Regions from separate parts of the Homo sapiens genome. Here region 1 is linked to region 2. The links are contacts of gene promoters, found by promoter capture Hi-C in human tissues and cell types (Jung and others, 2019). All regions are on one chromosome and are shown on one strand. Each heading gives the region's core, a stretch centred on a gene start or on the middle of the fragment in contact. The rest is flanking DNA. Distances are from core to core; before and after follow the strand shown.

What was found. The method cuts DNA at HindIII sites, captures the fragments that hold promoters and counts their contacts. A contact is called where the count stands out against the background at its distance.
Region 1: a contact is called between a fragment that was not itself captured here and the fragment with the promoter of SMIM14 in region 2, in 2 of the 25 tissues and cell types used here (hippocampus and pancreas).

The regions. Positions count from the first base shown.
Region 1 is chr4:40,317,529-40,320,784 of GRCh38, forward strand. All of the region lies in intron 2 of LINC02265 (long intergenic non-protein coding RNA 2265), which reads left to right. Among named protein-coding and RNA genes, the nearest start is that of LINC02265, 12 kb to the left of the region's middle. The HindIII fragment of the contact is 3,787 bases long and covers 1-3,256 here.
Region 2 is chr4:39,637,566-39,640,390 of GRCh38, forward strand. SMIM14 (small integral membrane protein 14) reads right to left here and starts at 1,300. Exons shown (of 5, transcript NM_174921.3): 1 at 1,174-1,300. SMIM14-DT (SMIM14 divergent transcript) reads left to right here and starts at 1,575. Exons shown (of 6, transcript NR_183845.1): 1 at 1,575-1,729. RefSeq lists an enhancer at 1,242-1,959. The HindIII fragment of the contact is 11,439 bases long and covers 1-2,825 here.

The DNA.
Region 1 (3,256 bases), core at 345-2,844, 680 kb after region 2:
AGCTTGTTCTGTCTTCAAACTTCTGAACCAATGTCCTGCATTCCATGTATGTGGCTCATGGTTCTGACCACTGCTGCTTTAAAATGACAGACCTCTGGGCCGGGCACGGTGGCTCACGCCTGTCTGTAATCCCAGCACTTTGGGAGGCCGAGGCGGGCAGATTACGAGGTCAGGAGATCGAGACCATCCTGGCTAACACGGTGAAACCCCTGTCTCTACTAAAAATACAAAAAAAAAAAAAAAAAAAAAAAAAAAAAAAAAAATTAGCCGGGCTTGGTGGCGGGCGCCTGTAGTTCCAGTCCCAGCTACTCCGGAGGCTGAGGCAGTAGAATTGCTTGAATCCAGGAGGCGAAGCTTGCAGTGAGCCGAGATCGTGCCACTGCACTCCAGCCTGGATGACAGAGTGAGACTCCATCTCTCACACACACAAAAAACAAAACAAAACAAACAAACAAACAAACAAACAAAAAGACAGACCCCTGGAAGGTAAATGAAGAGAGGGACCAACAGTGACTGCCCCTCCTTCTCTGGCAGCTCTTGAGGGCAGGCCCTTCTCTTTTCATCTTGTACTCCAGGGCTTATCAAAAGGGCTTAGTATAAGTAGACTCCACAGATGCTTGTGGTCTGAATGATATGTGGAGCCCAGTGGGGTAGATAATATTATTCCTTTCACCCATGAGGAAACTGAGGTGCAAAGAAGATTTTTTAAAAATGCCTGAGATCTCTCACTAATAAATGACAGAACAGAAACTCCAGTCCCAAATCCCAAAGGCTTTTTTTCTACCAAGATGCACCCCCACGCCTCCACCATGCACTCCATCTTGCTGGTCCAGTCCGTCAAGTGAGAGCCTCGTTTTTGGTCTCTGCCTCCTATGGATCAGTCCACCCTGGAGGCACAACCTTCTTTCCCTTCTCTGAACTTCTGGTTCAGACCTCTCATTTGGCAGCGAGTCACGCCTTTAAGGAATAGTTGGCAGGGTGCAGTGGCTCACGCCTATAATCCCAGCACTGTGGGAGGCTGATGTGGGCAAATCGCTTGAGCTTAGGAGTTCGGGACTAGCCCGGGCAACATGGTGAAATCCCTGTCTCTACTAAAAATAAAAAAAAAAAGTAGCTGGATGTGGTGGCGGTGCCTGTGGTCCCAGCTCTCTGGAGGCCGAGGTGGGAGGATCGCTTGAGTCCAGGAGGCAGAGGTTGCAATGACCTGAGATTGCACCATTGCACTCCAGTGGGTGACAAAGCAAGACCCTGTCAAAAAAAAAAAAAAAAAGAGTCAGGTGCAGTGGCTCACGCCTGTAATCCCAGCACTTTGGGAGGCCAAGGCAGGTGGATCTCCTGAGGTCAGGAATTTGAGACCAGCCTGGCCAACATGGTGAAACCCCGTCTCTACCAAAAATACAAAAAAATTAGCCGGACCTGGTGGCAGGCGCCTGTAATCCCAGCTACTTGGGAGGCTGAGGCAGGAGAATCTTTTGAACCCGGGAGATGGAGGTTGCAGTGAGCCGAGACTGTGCCATTGAACTCCAGCCTGGGGAACAAGAGTGAGACTTCTCTCAAAAAAAAAAAAAAAATAGTCTTCTTGCTTGCATTACTTATTTAACTTTTATTGTTATTCAGCTTTTCTTAGAAATTTGTCTTTTTCCTCTAAATATTCCATAATCACCTTGAAGGATGAGATGATGTGTAGTTAATTCTTGTGAACTCTCTGCCCAGCATTCAGTAAATATTTGCAGTATGAGTGGATTTTGCAGCACTATTCTGATCAAAACTCACCTCTCAGTGCCTGTTTCTACTGGGAAACTAGGAAATATTTTTTTTGTTTTGTTTTGTGTTGTTTGAGACAGAGTCTCGCTCTGTCACCCAGGCTGGAGTGCAGTGGCCAGATCTTGGCTCACTGCAACTTCTGCATCCCGGGTTCAAGCGATTTTCCTGCCTCAGCTTCCCAAGTAGCCGGGACTACAGGCGCCCACCACCATGCCAGGCTGATGTTTGTATTTTTAGTAGAGATGGGGTTTCACCATTTTGGCCAGGCTGGTCTCGAACTCCTGACCTTGTGATCCACCCACCTTAGCCTCCCAAAGTGCTGGGATTACAGGTGTGAGCCACCATGACCAGCTGGAAGTGGTTTTAATATTTATCTTAAAACATGTATTCTCATCAAAAAGGTGATCCACTCCCCTCTGCTGAGGGGCTTACAACCTAAGTTAAGTTAAATACAGTTCTCTTTTCTCCAGAAGCTTAACTCTTGAGCTTGTACTTATCTTACTTATCTTGGCTATTACTACACTGGATTTAGGTCAAAGGTAGAATTTTTTTTTTTTTTTTGAAACAGAGTCTCACTCTGTCGCCCAGGCTGGACTGCAGTGGTGCGATCTCGGCTCACTGCAACCTCCACCTCCCGGGTTCAAGTGATTCTTTTGCCTCAGCTTCCCGAGAATCTGGGATTATAGGCGCCTGCCACCACGCCCAGCTAATTTTTATATTTTTAGTAGAGGTGGGGTTTTGCCATGTTGGCCAGGCTGGTCTCGAACTCCTGATCTCAAGTGATCTGCCTGCCTCGGCCTCCCAAAGTGCTGGGATTACAGGCATGAGCCTCTGCATCCAGGCTAGGTCAAAGGTGGAATCTAAATTCATTTAGGTCCTTCCATTTTGACTGGAATCTGTCAGCTCCCAAACACAGCACATCCGTTCCGCAACGGGGATCCACTCTGACAAGCTGGGTCACAGTGGGGCTAGTTTCTCTGCCAGGCGCATTTACATCCAAGGTTGTTTCATCTTGCTCTTAAGGCTGCCCTTTAGGGAGCCATGCTTGGCACAGGTGTGTGCACATTAAGGTTAAGACACTCAGCTGCCACCATCCTCTCACCGCGGACACCAGAAGCGTCACTGCCCAGGGAAGGCCAGCCAAGACTGCCTGGGGAATTGTGGCATGGGAGGAGGGTGACTGCCAATCAAGAGATCTCTGTCAGGCCTGGCTCTCACCACTACAATCATGTATTTCATGAGCATTTATTGGACACCTCTTGTATATCAAATACTGGGGATACCAAGACAAATGGAGCATCTGAGAGATGCTCAGTCTGGCCGGGGAGACAATAGGTAAACAGTTGAGTAACGGGATGGGCACTGTGATAGAAGTATGTACCAGAAACCACAAGAACATAGGAGAGGAAGCACGGAATTCTGCCTGGGAGGTTGGAAAGGGCTTTCTCGATTAGGTGATTTTCAAGATGAGACTTGAAAGAGAAGCTGTTCA
Region 2 (2,825 bases), core at 50-2,549:
GGGGGTGAAGCGGTGTTCTTAAACACCACGTTGGAAAAAAAAAAAAAGTTAGGACAAAAAGGTTTGGTTTTCTGGTCGCAGTGCTGTCGACGGCCGCGGAGAGCGGCAAGTTCGGAGCAGGCTACACTAAAGGAATCTGCGCGGCCAGCCACCCTAAGTGGAAGGGAATGCAAAGCCTCCTGCAACCTCCACAGCGCTGGGCAGCAAGAATGCCTCCTAAGCGTCCCAACACTCCAACACCTGGAAGGTCTTACGCTTTCCAAGTTATAATATGTACAGCTGCTGTTTCTGACAATAACACACACAAACTGGAAGGTCTCTTCTGCAAATGTAGCTATTACGTGTGTGAAGCTCATCCGACTCTCTCGATGCAAAAGTAACACATTCTATTAAGGCCACAGCCTCGGTTTTGCCAACTGGGGCAACTGAAAACATCCTACCGACTCTCTACAGCTAGCAAACCATCTCGGCTAAAATCCTGGCACATATAAACAGCCACTTTGGTGAAGTCTGCCTTTAAACAGCAACACGGGACTTCGGGTAGAGCCGGTAACCAGTTTATCACACACTATTAGTTCCAATAAAGGGTGCTGCTACCTCTTTACTGTCAGCCTTGGTTCCACTTACTGAGCAAACAGAAAAAGGGGATCCTTTAAATTCGCGACACAATAGGAGCTAAAAAGCTCTCGCTTTCAGGGTGTCAGCTTTCTCGTCTCACTTATCACAACAAAGGACGCATCCTAGTGACTTCACCGTACCCAGAAAGGGCTGAGGGAGACGGTAAACAAGATAGTGTGGATTTCAGGATTTGTGAGTTTTTCCTTCCAGCTACGACTCTCTTTTTACTCCATGATACGCCTCCACCCGTCGACAATCTGATCCTAAAAATAAAACCACCCGTGGCTACCTTGCCCTTGCCTGCAAAGCCCCGACTCTGACATCCTGCAGAGAATACCCAATTGCAGGCTCTTCGCGGGGGACGCGGGCTCGGCAGCAGCGGAGCTTCTCCCGGTGCAGAATCGCCAGCCCGGCCGAGGAAACGCCAAGCCCGAGAAACAGCCCTGTTCTGCCGCAGCCGCCGCAGTCCCCGAGAGCCTGAGGAGCCCCCAGGAAAAACTGGGGCGAGGGGAGGGTGAGCCAGCAAACGCTGGTGGGAGAGGGGGAGACACTCACCCGCCCAGACAACAACCGATGGGGCGGGGAGGATGGGGGCCGGGACCGAGGCTCGGCAGAAAGACCGCCTGGAGCTTCCAGAAGGCTGCGGCTGCTCCGGACGCTGCTGCCACTGCCGTTTCTGGCCGCCGGCTTCCTCCCCCTCCTCTGTTTTGATTCGAGTGACCACGTCACTCTTAGCCACAAGACCCGGATCTGCCGGCTCCCGCGGGCGGCGGCGCAACAGATTGCAGCGCCTGGAGACTCCAGCTGCCCCGCCTGCCGAGCATGCGCATGCCCAGCGCCTGCCCTGTGCGTCCCGGGAAGCCGGGCGGGAGCCTGCGGCTTCGGACGCCTACGACACGCTGTGCGTGGGGGCGCGGAGTGCGGGGGATGTAGTTCCGGTTGGGAGGGGCGTGGCTGAGGACTGTGAAGCAATCGGGGCGAGGCCGGGTGTCTGTTCAACTCTCCCGCGTATCGTCTGTTTCTTCGGCGGCGGACAGTGTTCTGTAATGTGTCTCCCGTTGCCCGAGCTAAAGGTTTTCCTCGACGGAGTCTTTAGAATACCGTGGTAGAGGTAGACGCGGTTACAAATTGATGTCTGTTGAGACAGTCTACCCCTGTAAAGTGTTTTTGGTTACTCAGGCCCGGATGGAAATTGGAGATGGGGATTACAAAAATACATCAAATGTGGCTGTTATTGATTCCCTTTACCTTAACATTTTTGCACCGGAAACGACCAAAATTAAGTTCAACAGGAATATTAATAAAAGGAATATGTAGTCGGGCTTGGTGACTCATGCCTGTAATCCCAGCACTTCAGGAGGCAGAGGTGGGCGGATCACTTGAGGTCAGGAGTCCGAGACCAGCCTGGCCGACATGGTGAAACCCCATCTCCACTAAAAACACAAAAATTAGCCGGGCATGGTGGTGCCCGCTTGTAGTCCCAGCTACTCGGGAGGCTGAGGTGGAAGAATCGCTTGAACCCGGGAGGCGGAGGTTGCAGTGAGCCGAGATCGCGCCACTGCACTCCAGCCTGGGTGATAGTGAGACTTTGTCTCAAACTAAATAATTAAAGATATGTGACCAAAGATGACTTGCTGGTCAGGAGATAATGGGGAAGTAGGAGGGAATGCTGTGGCTAGGCAGCCAGCCAGCCCAAGTCTTAGTTGCTTTGGTTGTAGAGCTGGAATAAGAGTGCTGCTTTTACCCAATCTTCCTTTTAGAGCAAGTTGGTGCTTCCTATTCTCCCATTCTAGTCTCTGAGTCTCCCCGCTAAATTTTGGGGGCCCTGGAAATTTCCCAATTTGGCAAAATGCAGAACTATATTGTTTTCTTAGGTCCTTCAGTTGGCAAGCTTTAATTAAAATGGGACAAGTGGCGAAGTAAAAGTGAATCCCAAACAAAGATTTTACGAAAGTGCCTCTCTGCCAGTCTTGACGGAGAGGTGAAAGCTGCAAGCTTTCTTACTCAGATTTGATGACCTTTTCACTTACCCAGACTTCCACCTCAGCAATTTGGTTAATTACCCCTCGACAAGCTGAATCACCTTCCCCAAATAAGTATCATTTACAAGAGCTTTTTAATTAAAGTGGATATTGAACACAGGTAAAGGTTTCTAGAAAATTAAAGGTTTCTGGTAAAACTTGAAGTGTTTCCCAGTTAACTAATTG